Linked DNA regions of Homo sapiens: region 2 is linked to region 1. Evidence: promoter capture Hi-C in human tissues and cell types (Jung and others, 2019). All regions are on one chromosome and are shown on one strand. The core of a region is centred on a gene start or on the middle of the fragment in contact, and the rest is flanking DNA. Distances in the headings are between cores, read along the strand shown.

Region 1 (6,989 bases), core at 2,826-5,325:
ACCCAGGTCAGCACCGCTAGGCAAAAACGCAGGTGAGGCTTGTGTTATAAGCCAAGGGACCCAGTTCTGTTTTCTTTTGGCAAAAAAGCACTGGTGAGCTATTAGTACCATCCAGCTGGGGTGGTGCTTCTAAGACTCTTGAGTCTGCCCAGCAACACTGTCCAGATTCTATTTGCCAAATTGGAGGGAGGAAAATGCTTCTTCCATAGATGCTGGTGAAACAACAGTGAGGAGAGCCTGGGAGAATGTGAGAAACAAGCACTAACACACTGATGGCTGGAAAGCACACCAGGACAGGCTCTCCACAGGTGACATGGAAAGACGCATCCAAAGCCCTAAGAACCTCTCTACTCTTCATCCCAGCAATTCTGCTTCCAGAACATGGAAATACGCAACTAAAGCCCTAAGAGCCTCTCTACTCTTCATCCCAGCAACTCTGCTTCCAGAACACGGAAATACGCGTGCAAAGACCTAAGAACCTCTCTACTCTTCATCCCAGCAACTCTGCTTCCAGAACGTGGAAATGCGCGTCCAAAGCCCTAAGAGCCTCTCTACTCTTCATCCCAGCAACTCTGCTTCCAGAACTGTAGCTGGACAAAATAGTTAAGAATGTTCAGAACATGGGCGCGGTGGCTCACGCCTGTAATCCCAGCACTTCAGGAGGCCGAGGCGGGCAGATCACCTGAGGTCAGGAGTTTGAGACGAGCCTGGCTAATATGGTGAAACCCCGTTTCTACTAAAAATACAAAAAATTAGCTGGGTGTGGTGGTGCACACCTGTAATCCCAGCTACTCAGGAGGCTGAGGTAGGAGAATAGCTTGAACCTGGGAGACGGAGGTTGCAGTGAGCCGAGATCGCGCCATTGCACTCCAGCTTGGGCAATAAGAGTGAAACTCTGTCTCAAAAATTTAAAAAAAGAGTGTGCAGAACAACACAGCTGAAGAACACATTCTTAGATACATCAAAATGGGATAATCCAGTTGATACCATTTTATAACCTTGGCAACATGAGGATAATGGTTCATCCTTTCATGTCATTTTCTAGTCTGTGCTATGTAATTTCAAGTGCCTTTTCACTGAATAGACCTATTAAAATTGATACAAGCAGCTGGCTATTGTTGGACGTGTTCTATTTTTAATAAGAAAAACTGGAAGCAACTTAAATGTCCAACAACTGGGGACTGGTTAAAGCCATACAATGGGATGATCCCATTTTTGGTTTGTGCACATGAGCGTGCATACATACACATTAAGAAGACTGCATCAAAGTGAATAAGGCAGTTTGCTTATAGATAATTTTTTTCCATTTTGGTTATATTTATTGCCACTTTTTCTACAATAACTATATGCTACTTAAAACATCTTAATTATTAACTTCCTTCCCCCATATTGATAGCCAGGGAGAACACCCAGAAGAGTGTGTGTGTGCACATGCAAGGCGTGCAACCATCATAGATGAAATGGCAGCATCTGAGGTGAGCCCTAGGGCTAACAGGTCTGACTCCAAGTCATGCAAATCTGTGGGGATGTGGGGGAGGAGATGGGGGAGACTCATCAGCGCTACCAGTTACACATTCCAGACAACAGCCAGTAGCTCCTCATTTGAATCGGAAACAGAATGAACACCCACACTCACCCAGGGAGTGTGAATATATCATTTGATCTGTCTGCTCACATTTTTGGCAAGAGACAATGGTGGCAAGATTGGGGTCACTGACCCAGACTCTGGTATCTGAGTGGTTCTTAGAAAGCAACCAAATGGAGGTTTTCAAAAGGCTATGATCCCAATGTAACCAGTGTTTCACTCTTGGAAATGGGGGAGTTGGTGGGGATACCAAAGTCACACAAACACACGACACCAAGACACAAACTTTCCTTTACTTTTCATCTCTGCAGTGACACCAAATTCATTTTTACTCTGCTGAGTCTTTCTTTGTTAAGAGACTTCATGGATTTATAAAACAAATCCACTGTGCCAGGGCTCTGGCTTTCTGTATCCTTTCAGGACAGTCTCCAGGAATTTCTCAAAGGCCTTTGCCACTTAGATCCTCAAGACTACAGGCAACTACTCCAACCACAAAAGCTCTCAGTTCAGCCTGATGTACCCTCAAAGGGCCAGTTCCTGAGACCATAGGGAGGAACTTAAGAAAGCGAAAGGGAAAGTTCCTAGGTTTCTACGTATTTATGTATTGAACCATGAGACAGGGCTCAGCCAGTCAAGGACTTCCTGGAAGGGACTCCATTGGAGTTACTGGACCAAAATGGCAGCCTTCCCAGATCACAGGGAGAAATGAGACCAGGAACAGAGGCTCTCATTATTAGCAATGCCTTGATTAACACCCTGTTCTGACTGGAAGAGTTCCCCACTGTTGTCACAGAAAGCCAAAAACATCTCAGATAATTCCCAGAGTTTCAATACTGTTCCAAGACTGGTAGGCACGCATTTTTCTCAGCACACATATACACATATTTTCACTTCCTTTTTATTCTTAAACTAATTCTTTTTCTTCAAAGGGAATCTTGGAAATTCAGTCCTAAGAAATTATAGTAAATATTCATCAGCCAGGCACAGTGGCTCACATCTGTAATCCCAGCACTTTGGGAGGCCCAGGTGGGAGGATCACTTGAGCTCAGGAGCTCGAGACCAGCCTGGGCAACACAGTGAAACCCTGTCTCTACTTTAATATATATAATTTATATATATATTTATAAATCCATGCCATGGTTTAAATGAAGTTTTAAATTTTCTATCTACTATGCAGCAATATGTCACCTGATGTTGGAGAATGAACCAGGAAGTATTCCTGGAGCTTATATTGATATTTTAGAAGCTCCTGTCTTGTATTTGTAAAGACGGCAGTCACCGGGACGCCCAAATTCAACCTCACTTGCGTCCTTTTATTCCTTTATCTAATTTACACCTGCCAAACACAAATCCACCCTAGATGCAGCAAGGGGAATCAAACCCACATGGCTTCCTGGAGAGCTCTATTTAAAAAACACAAAACCTGTACTAATCTCGCGAAACCTGTACTAGCCTCACATCAAGTTCTTACATGAAGAAACCAGGTTATTTACTACGTTCTAATACATCCAGGGCCCACAGGGCATTTCCTGGCTGGCACAGGTCACTGGGACGTGTTGGTCCCTTCCCCCAACCGAAACAACTCGAAATTCACACATATCCCCGGAACAACAGCCTCCTGCCCTCAAAGTCCACTGCCAAAAAGTGCGAGGGGCGCGGGAATGTCCAGTCTCTGCGGTGGCGCAGATGCCTGGCGGCTTTCTCTGGGACCCCCTAAAAGAAATCCGGGCGCTTTCATTTTTGCACCAACGCTCTTCAACTTTAGGAGAGGGGGAATGCAGCGTGCGGACGGGAAAAAGGGGATCTAGTGGGAAATGCGGACGTGAAAGCACTTTTTTTGCACCTTCTCTCTGGACCAGGCGAGGAGGTAGAGGGCGAGCCTGGAGAGGAAAGATCTCTTCCCACACCCTGCCTGGGTGCTTTCAAGAATCCCGGCAAAGACCCTGGGGCGCACGGCGCGCCACCTTGGACATGTCGCCTGGGATCGGCTACCGGGAGCTCCTTTTCCCGCCTTCTCGGCCAGCACCGGGCTCATCCTCCCGGACCGGGAGGCTCCCCGATCGGGGACACTCTCACGTGCCGAGGGCAAGGTTGACTCCAGGAGGGCAAGGCCCACGCGCCCGACGCGGCGCGCGCAGGAACCGAACAGTCCGGGGGTCCCGGAGCCACCCGCGCATTTTGACTACGCCGTCCCCGCCCTCTCTCCGCACCCTCCGCACCCTCCGCACCCTGCGTCCCTCGGCCGCATCTCCGCCGGGCGTCCGCTGGCTGGCTAGCTCACCACTCCACGCCATCCGCCTCCAAAGCCCGGCACTCACCTGCCCCGCGCGGCAGGCGCGCCGCACCCAGCAGCAGAACCCCTAGCAGTGCGATAGAGACCCCGCAGTTCAGGCCGGCCATGACTCCGGGACGCCTCGGCCTCGGTGGGGAAAACGACGGTGGGGAGCGGCGGCCCCAGGCGCCCAAGCCCGGCGCAGCTGCGCTCCGCCCTGGCTCACTCACCTGCGCGCGGGCGGACCGGCCCGAGCCCCGCCCTGCGCAGCAGGATCGCGAGCTGACCCGGTGCGTCCCTCCTCTCTCTCCTCCTCCTCTTCCTGCCTCAGCGACCGCCTCTCCCTCCCAGGGTGCAGGGCTCCCGGCACCGGGTTGCTGGGTCCCTACTACTCCCCATTGCGGCGTTGGAGCGGACTTGTCCCCACCTTTCCGGGCTTAGTCTTCCTTCCCAAGTCTGAGAATGATGAGGTCTTTTTCTCCAGAGTCGCGAAGGTCGCCCATAGAGGAAGCCAGTCTACCTTCCCTTTTCTGTCGAGGAGACAAAGGCCATTATGCGCCTCGTTTTGGAGAAGAATCCTATTTGTGGGCCACCCAAGCCCTGGATCCTCTGCTACTTGACTTGGGCCAGAGGTCTGTTGGACTTTAAAGCCGGTGGTGGTACAGCTAGTATTTGCAGGACGGTGAGCCTGCAGCCTACTCCACACACATCACCTGCAGTATTTCCAGACACGCAACGTGTCCAAGGTCCCCAGGGTAGCTAGTAAATTAGAGGCAGATGCACCACTTCGTTGAATTGTGAGTAGAGTAGTATGCATCCCTTCACTGAGCTGTGGATGGAGTAGTATGTGCCCTTCTCGAGTTGTATTATAAATGGAGTAGTGTGTGCAGTGTGAGCGTGAAGCATTCAGGTCAAACGTTGGGCTGGAAAATGAATGAAAAATGAATGGCGCTGGACTCCTTTTCCAAATCCTCCCAGCCGCAGGTGTGCCACCTGCCTGTCTTCAGAGGCCCTGTGGGTTCTCCTTCCACCCTGCCGGCCATACACCAAGTCCAGGCCACAGGCAGAGATTGCGGATGGTTCAGGAGTTCTTAGCTAGCAGACCTGGGTTCTGCCAGAATGACTCCCTGGGACTACTTGTGTTCATGGATAGCCAGAAGCTGGGCCAGAGTCACCCGGAGCAACCTGGGAGGCTTGGGACAGGAACCAAAGCATGTGCGACAGCATCAGTTTACAGTCCAGTCCCAACTTCTGCTTAATTCTTGCGGGCACTGAGCCTCTCCAGGCTGCCCCAATCCTCCTTGTGGACAGGGGTGGGAAATCATCTCCTAGGAGCGTCACCCCTTCCTTCTCGATGTCCTTAATCATGAGAATAGAGCTAGCTCTGCCCTCTGGGAGCCCACAGTCCATCGAGGGAGGCAGAACTTGGAACATGACCCTGCCCACACCCCCACCTCTGGGAGGGCCTGTATCGTGAGCTAAACGGGACCTTAGATGTAATCTTCTAGTCCACTTCTGTCCTTGTGCAGAAAAATGGGAAAACTGAGAACTAGAGGGAAGGGAGAGGATGAGAAACGAAGAGAGGCTCTTGGTTCTCCCCACTGAATCGAGGACAAATTCATCAAGAGAAAGAAATCTTGACAAAAATCTAAACAATCTTTAAAAATATTTATGCTGACCAGGAGGGTGAAAGGAGATTTGTCTTTTCTCCTGATTCTAAGCAGGCATATATATCCCAGCATCTTTTCCTAACATCCATGACACCATTGTTTCCCACATACAGTAATACCCACAACAGTACTAGAATGGCAGTGTATTGAATGCAAAATATCAGAAATATTGCTTGACAAGTTAAGCCTAAGGAACAAGTTATTTCCTTACTATTTCGTCTCTCCAAAGTTTGCTTAACTGTCTTTCTTGGGATAGTTGACACCAGCTTTCTGAAAATGGAATGAGAGTCACTAATTCCCAAATATGAAGCATTGGTGGTGGTTCCAGAAAGTAGCAGCAACGAGAAAGAAGAAAATAGGGAGGCACTTCAGCATCCTTTGCGTGACAACCCAACTACATAGTTGAAGTAAAGATGTCCTGACATACTGTCCTGGTCCTCCAAGTGGAGTGTGAACAAAGCATTGCCAAGAATGGACATGTTTTGTCTTTACAAACATGGCTGAATGGAAGGAGTAAATTTTAAAAGGTTATTTCTGAACTGGAAAGCAACGTAGGTAACTATAATCTAGTGCTAGAGAGAAATGAGAGATTGAAAGGTAAATTTTCGGCTGGGTGCAGTAGCTCATGCCTGTAATCCCAGCACTTTGGGAGGACAAGGTGGGTGGATAACTTGAGGTCAGGAGTTGGAGACCAGCCTGGCCAACATGGCAAAACCTCATCTCTACTAAAAACACAAAAATTAGCCGGCTGTGGTGGCGGGCGCCTGTAGTCCCAGCTACCCAGGAGGCTGAGACAGGAGAATTGCTTGAACCTGGGAGGTGGAGGTTGCAGTGAGCTAAGATTGCACCATTCCACTCCAGCCTGGGCGACAGAGTAAAGTTCTCTCTCTAAAAAAAGAAAAAAAAAAAAAAGGAAGGTGAGTCTTAAAACAGACTGTCCCATCTAATTTTGACCTCTTCTGAAACCCTGCAAAGGCTGTAAAACAGGGATTAAAAAAAATTACATAAGCCCACAAAGGTGGGAAGAACAGAGAGAAGACAACAGCAAAATCACCCTGGAAGCTAGACAGCAGCTGGACTAGTGGTAGCTGCCTTAGGAGCCTGGAGATGGCAGAACCCTAAGCCAGTAGTGGGGAAAACTCAGAAATAACACGATTAACACAGAAATCCTCAAAAAAGATCCTCAGGAAATGGCAGCACAAGGTATTCTGCAACTGGAGGGTGAAAGAGGAGTTAAACAAGAAAGGCTAGAAGAAAGCTGTTTGAGAAGTACTGTGGTTAGATCCCAGAACCCATCCATCATTACCCTTGCCTGGGCAACAGTCCCTCGTCCAGCTTCCAGTGTTGTTCTTGAGAAATCCAAAACCATTCTCATTTTTATTATTTTCTTTGAGACCCTTTTCTTGCCTCTAAAGCTGTAGAATCTTCTTTTTGTTCATTGGTTTCTGAAATTTCACCATAA
Region 2 (6,989 bases), core at 1,557-4,056, 520 kb after region 1:
AAAACGTTGATTTCCAGCTCAGATTCCTTAGAACTTGCTAACCCCATTCCTGGAACCAAAGTGCTGTTTGCTGTGTTCTCCATACATTGGATCAGAAGCCTAAGCTCTGGAAGTCCTGCGCCGTTTCCTGGTGGCCTCCTAGCTCCCTCTAGGGGCCCCATCCGCAACTGCAGCCCCACCTTCTTTCCTCTCTTGAGGAATGAGTTTACCCTGCGGGAATTCCGAGAAGGAAGAGGCGAAAGTGGGGAGCTCCACAAGTAAAGATTTGGACTTTGTGATCAGACAGTGTGTGAATAGTTTTGCTTACTGGTTGAGCAAGCTTCTCTTAGGTGGGCTGTCTTTTTTTTTTTTTTTTTTTTTTTTTCCCGAGACGGAGTCTCTCTCTGTCATAAAGGCTAGAGTGCAATGGCGCGATCTTAGCTTCCTGCAGCCTCCGCCTCCCAGGTTCAAGCGATTCTCCTACCGCGGCCTCCCAAGTAGCTAGGATTATAGGCGCGTGCCACCATGCCAAGCTAATTTTTGTATTTTTAGTGGAGATGAGGTTTCGCCATGTTGGCCAGGCTGGTCTCGAACTCGTGATCTCAAGTGGTCCAACAGCCTCAGCCTCCCAGAGTGCTGGGATCACAGGCGTGAGCCACCGCGCCCGGCCAGGTGGGCTGTTTGTGTTCCTCGTCACCTTGTTCCTGGGGAGGGACAGAGGGCAGCAGATCAGCTGTCACCCAGGTAGGTGTCCGACGTGGGAAAAGTATGGGAAAGATACTCTAGTTAGTTCTCATTTTCTTTTCTAAAACTTCGAGTTCTCTGGAGTCCCTTTATAGAGAGAAAGTTTAAGTAACTGAAATTAATTTCCATGGCTGTCAAGGGGGTTCTGATGATGATCCCTGAGATCACCCAGCTGTAGGTAGACATTCTTGGTACCTTAGTTTAGCAGAGTCAGAAAATACTGCGAACGTTCAAGGATGGGGACCTTCTAGAAGAGAGGGCAACAGTAACTTTGAGGGGAGGACAAGAGAGCAGCTTTGGAGACCTAAAGAGTTGTGGCCTTCTATGTAAGTCCTATTATCCCTTCCATGCACCCCCACCCACATTCCCCTACTCCATTAAACTTTGTTTCAGGTTATAAAAATAATGCATAATTATTGCAGGAAAAAATGGTAATTGAAAATCACCTATTTCTTACACTCAAAGATAATGACTTAAAATTTGGTGTACATCTTATGTGTATGAGTGTACACATAATTTTGTCATCATATATGTGAGTGTGTTCATAACTGTAACCCACATACTTATATACTTCCTTTAAAATATTTTAAGTATTTTTCCCTGTCAATAAATATTTTTTTGAAAACACAATCTTTTTATGGCTGCATAATATTCCAACATGTATATGGGTTATCATTTAATAGGAATTGGACATTTGATGCTCATTTTTAGCAAGCTATTATAAATCTGAGATGACGATTTCTGGAACTAGGATAAATTCCTGAAATAGAATTTTTGGGGAGAAAATATCTGAACTTTGTAAATTCTACTGACATTTAATACAAATTTCTCTCCTAAGAGCTTGTTTTAGCTTCTGCTATCCCTTGCAGAGTGTGAACAAGTATCTGTTTGTCTGTGTCATTACTAACACTGGGGTTATCATTCTTTTTAAGCTTTGCTAGTCTGATAGGTAAAGCATAGGGTTTTTTGTTGTTGTTTGTTTTTGGAGAGACAGAGTCTCACTCTATTGCCCAGGCTGGCGTGCACAGACGTGATCTCAGCTCACTGCAGTCTCAACCTCTAGGCACAAGTGATCCTCCTAGCTCAGCCTCCTAAGTAGCTGGGACTACAGGCGTGCCCCACTACACCTAGCTAACTTTTTTATTATTTGTAGAGATGGGATCTTGCTGTGTTGCCTAGGCTGGTCTTGAGCTCCTGGGTTCAAGTGATCCTCCCACCTTGGCCTCCCAAAGTGTTGGAATTACAGGTGTGAGCCACTGTGCCTGGCAGCAATATTTTTTAAATCATGAGGAAAGCTAAAGATTTTATTTTATAGTTATTGATCATTCATACTTATTTTGTGGTTTGTCTGCCTATTCTTTACCCATTTTTTATATAGGACTGTTACTTGAGTTATTTTCATATTAGAGTTACATCCTTTTCTGTCATACAGTATAGATGTTTGCTCTAGTTTGTTATTGCCTTTTCGTTTACGGTGTTTCACCTAAGTGTGTGTGTGTGTGTGTGTGTGTGCGCGTGTAAAACCTACTGGAAGGTACTATGGGAAATAATCCTTATTTACCTGTCACCCAGAATGCACAGACATTTTTACATTATAGTTTTGGTTTGATATTTTTTATAAAGGAAATTAAATATATAAAAATTGTGTGTGTATTTTAAAACCTACTGGAAAGTACTATAGGAAATAATCCTTATTTACCTATCACCCAGAATGCACAGACATTTTTACATTGTAGCTTTGATTCTGTATTTTTATAAAGGAAATAAAATATTATATAAAAATTGGAATCATCTTGATTCCTTTTCCCATCCTCTCCCTTCCTTCCCTAGGGCAGCTGCCATTATGAATTGAAATTTTCCTACTGTTACCATATATACTATTGTCAATAAAAAACATACAGTACTAGTTTACAGTACTAGTTTGTGGCCGGGCATGGTGGCTCACACCTGTAATCCCAGCACTTTGGGAGGCCGAGGTGGGTGGATCACCTGAGGTCAGGAGTTCGAGACCAGCCTGGCCACCATCTCTACTAAAAATACAAAAATTAGCCGGGTATGGTGGTGAGTGCCTGTAATCCCAGTTGCTTGGGAGGCTGAGGCAGGAGAATCACTTGAACCTGGGAGGCAGAGGCTGCAGTGAACCAAGATCGTGCCACTGCACTCCAGCCTGGGCGACACAGCGAGACTCCGTCTCAAAAAAAAAAAACAAAACAGTACTAGTTTGTGTATGTGTGTGTGCGCACTCTCAAACTTACACATATACGATCATTGGTATATCTTCAGGCATTTTGCCTTATTTGCACTGGTGTTCAGTTCAATTAATAATGATATGCATAGATCTAGCCCTTTCATTTTGACTGCTGTCTGGTATTACATCCAGTAAATACAGCTCCAGTTTCTTCGTCTATTTATCAATTCTCATATCTAGTGAACACTGAAGACGCTTCTAGTTTTTCCATAACAACGTTGCCGTGAACATCCATACATGTCTGTCCTCATGCATGTTTGGGTAATCTTCTCAAGGGGCAACCTTAGAAGTGTGTTGTGGATTATGTGTATTTTCAGATCTATTGGCCCTTGACAAATTGTTCCCAAGTAGTCATCCCAGTTGATGATACTCCCACCAGTGTGAAAGGGCTCCTCTTGTCCCACACCTTCCAAGACATGCTATTAGATTTAGTAATTTTTGCCAATCTATGAAAGTGAGATAGAATCTCATTGTGGTTTTAGTTTGCATTATCCTGATTGTTGATAGGATAGAACATCTTTTTATTATAGATATTGGGGTTATGATTAATAATCCTGGTTATTCCTAAGGTATAACAGGTTTTCTATTCTATGCACTTTCTCTTCCTGCCCTTTGCTCATTTCCCCATTGGATTATTTATCTTTTTCTTATTAATTGGTGTTCTTTGTGTCTTAGGTACTAATACTATTTTAATTTATTTTATTTATTTATTTTTGAGACAGAGTCTTGCTCTGTTGCCCAGTCTTGACTCACTGCAATCTCCACCTCCTGGGTTCAAGTGATTCTTCTGCCTCAGACTCCCAAGTAGTGCGTGGCACCATGCCTGGCTAATTTTTTTTTTTTTTTTTTTTGAGACAGAGTCTCCCTCTGTCACCCAGGCTGGAGTGCAGTGGCATGATCTCGGCTCACTGCAACCTCCGCCTCCTAGGTGCAGGCGATTCTCCTGCCTCAGTCTCCCAAGTAGCTGGGGTTACAGGTGCATGCCACCATGCCCAGCTCTTTTTTGTATTTTTAGTAGAGATGGGGTTTCACCATATTGGCCAGGCTGATCTCGAACTCCTGACCTCAGGTGATCCACCTGCCTCAGCCTCCCAAAGTGCTGGCACTACAGGCTTGAGCCACTGTGCCCGGCCAATTTTTGTACCTTTTGTAGAGACAAAGTTTCACCATGTTGGCCAGGCTGGTCCCAAACTCCTGACCTCAAGTGATCCTCCCGTGTCAGCCTCCCAAAATGCTGGGACTACAGACGTGAACAACTGTGCCCGGCCAGATACTAATAGCATTTTATATGTGCTTTGGCCATCTTCTGATCCATGGCTTACTCTTCCTTTTTTCTTTAACTCAACATGTACTGCACTCTGTTAGAGTATTGCCAAAGCTTCCCCTCCAAGTATGAAGCTGACTTAGCTATATCTTCAAGGAATGTAGCATATACTCAGAGTATTAAAAAGTCCTACAGGAACCTACAGGAGGGCTGGGGGAAACATTCAGACAACACTAGATCTGGTAGCAACGACCACCACAGCAAAGAAGATGGATTTGTAGTTAAAGTTACTTCCTTTTTTATGCCTTTTCCGCTGCGTTGATGCTTTCAGGGTCCTCTCTGAGGTCTGAGGAATGTTCTTTGACAGTCTTGTCGCTATCTGCCTTGCGCTGCTTTGCCTCCTGTGGGCGTCACCAGGCGAGGGCAGCCAGTGTTCGTCTGGCGGGTTTCTCTGTATCTCGGGCACTGTTTGTGACAATGATGATTTTACTTTCATTTTGTGGGCTGGCCCCAAAGGGCTTGGTTTAACTTTTTGCAGAGAGTTCATTCAGTTTCTGAAACCCCCACATTGCCTGTTGAGTATGTGTTGAGCCTAGCACTGGAAATGCCCTCAGATCTGTGAATACTGCCAAGTAGGGGATCCCGGGACACCCTCTGCTGACCTTGAGCTCACAGCCCCATTGTGTTTTCCATAAGAGATGAGAGGGACTGATAAAGGATGTTTACCTGTGTTAGCCTTATGGAAGCAAGAGTTCCATCCAAGGAATCAGGGTGCTTTGAACTTTTCCCACTCCCGCCTACTCGTTTTAGGTCAAGAGAAACAAAAATATCCTTCCAACAATGTGTGTTTTCTACAGTTTAGGTGAGAAAAAGATAGGAAAATAATAGTTAACCAATGTATAGGACTCTCCTGATAGGCGGTCACAATGGTCCTGGAGCATATGTCCAAGGTGACTGTCATAAATGCCTGTGGGAAACTGCATCTTCACAAGAGACTGTTGCTTGGATGCCCCCTTGTGTTGCCTCTGCTGTCCTGCCACCAAATGCTTTGCTGGCATCTTTCCAAGCAGATAGGAGGTGCTGGAAGGTGAGCGTAGGATGACTTCCAAGTCAGCCCTTGAGTCTTTTTGCCAAATAGCACCTGCCAGGGCACCCTTCCTCCCGGCCTCAGCCTGCCTGCCTCTCGCCGAGGGCCACGGCATCTTTTAGGAACTGGAAAGTGTCATTGACAGTTGGCGGTTTTTACGTGTTTATTTCTGCCTAAAGATTTTGCTTTTCACTTTTCACTTTTTCCACTGCATATTAAAATTTTTCTTTTTTTACCCTGTGTTTGTGATTTTTTCCTTAGGCCGGAAGCTGAGAGGAAAAGCCTTTTATTTTGTCAACGGCAAAGTGTTTTGTGAAGAAGACTTCCTGGTGAGTGTGTCACCGAAGCCTCCCCTTGCATGTCCTGGCCAGAGTCAGAGGGCAGGGGCCTGGGGGGACCTGGGCCAGCGTGTAGGGAAGCTGCACTGCTGGAGAGAGGGGCCCTGCCTTTCCTTCTGTAGATACTTGGGGGTGGCCATGTTCCTGAGGCCAATGGCAAACCACACAGCTTTGTACTTTGAAGGAACTGTGGGGTCACTTGGCTATCCTCTTGCTGCTTTCTGCAGTTCTGCCTCTTCCACCACCCTGGACTCCTCCTCTTAGACCACTGGACTGGGACCTGGGCTCTCTTCTTCTCATCCCACTCTCTCTGGGGATCTAGCTTCTCCCATGGACTGGAAGTCCATCCATGTGCCAGTGGCTCCCAGACCTGAGCTCTAGCCCTGCCGCACCTCTGAGGCCAGCTGCTGGCATCCCACTGGCCCCTGGGCTGTGTCCCAACCCCTCACGTACCAGCCCCTCACCATATTTCTGTGAAGCAGAAAAATCTTACCTTGCCTTGGGTCCTGATCTGTGAGAATTGCCTCCTAGGTTTGTCCTCAACCCCACCTCCTTGAACGCAGCCAGGCGTTGAACTCTGTGCTGCCATGTCTTCCACAATTCTGCCTCCGTTCATACCTCCGGCATGGCTCAGCCAGGCTAGCTTAACGGCCTCCGCACACCCGCATCAAGAGGCCTTATAGGGCATAAACCTGGCCTGCTTGGTCCCAGCATGTGCAGGGTACAAAGCACACTCAGAAGCTCTCCGAGGTCTGGAATCCCCAGCTGCCCACACCTATGCAACCTCATGCCTTCGTGCCTTTGCTTGGGCCATTTCCCCTGCTTGCAATGTCTTGCCCCTTTATTTTCCCAGATCCCCCCAACAGCCTTCCTGTCCCTCCTGCACCCACAATGGAGGAGCTCTTCTGTGCTGCCACCATGCCCAGGGCCTGCCCTGGCAGGGCTGTGGGCTGTTAGCCCTGAGCAGTATGTCTGCTTACAAGTCTCTCCTCCATTGACTGAAAGCTTCCAGGATAGAAAGAACATGCGTCTTCACCTTCACACCTGCAGATTCTAACAAGATGCCATGCAGACTGGGTGCTTGGTAGTTGGTGGTTGAAATGACTCTGTCATCTCAGGGATGAGGAATGTGAGATGCAGAGATGGGCTCAGGGCCAGCTTCTCCCTGCCTTCCCTTGAGAAAAGCTCTATTTGGTTTTCACTGAAAAGTTGATTCATTATGATTCCTGTTGGCCAGAAACAGACTAGCAAACCCAAACGGGCTTAAGTAAAAAGGAAATTATTCCAGCAGTGCCTCAGGAGTCATTTTCTCCACAGTTTTTGGCCGTG

The links. The method cuts DNA at HindIII sites, captures the fragments that hold promoters and counts their contacts. A contact is called where the count stands out against the background at its distance.
Region 2: a fragment that was not itself captured here is called in contact with the fragment with the promoter of CDCP1 in region 1 in 1 of the 25 tissues and cell types used here (hippocampus).

The regions. Positions count from the first base shown.
Region 1 is chr3:45,142,303-45,149,291 of GRCh38, forward strand. It overlaps CDCP1 (CUB domain containing protein 1), which reads right to left and starts at 4,076. Exons shown (of 9, transcript NM_022842.5): 1 at 3,904-4,076. The coding sequence starts at 3,985. The HindIII fragment of the contact is 13,721 bases long and covers 1-6,989 here.
Region 2 is chr3:45,660,067-45,667,055 of GRCh38, forward strand. It overlaps LIMD1 (LIM domain containing 1), which reads left to right. Exons shown (of 8, transcript NM_014240.3): 3 at 5,584-5,651. Among named protein-coding and RNA genes, the nearest start is that of LIMD1-AS1, 25 kb to the right of the region's middle. The HindIII fragment of the contact is 5,401 bases long and covers 107-5,507 here.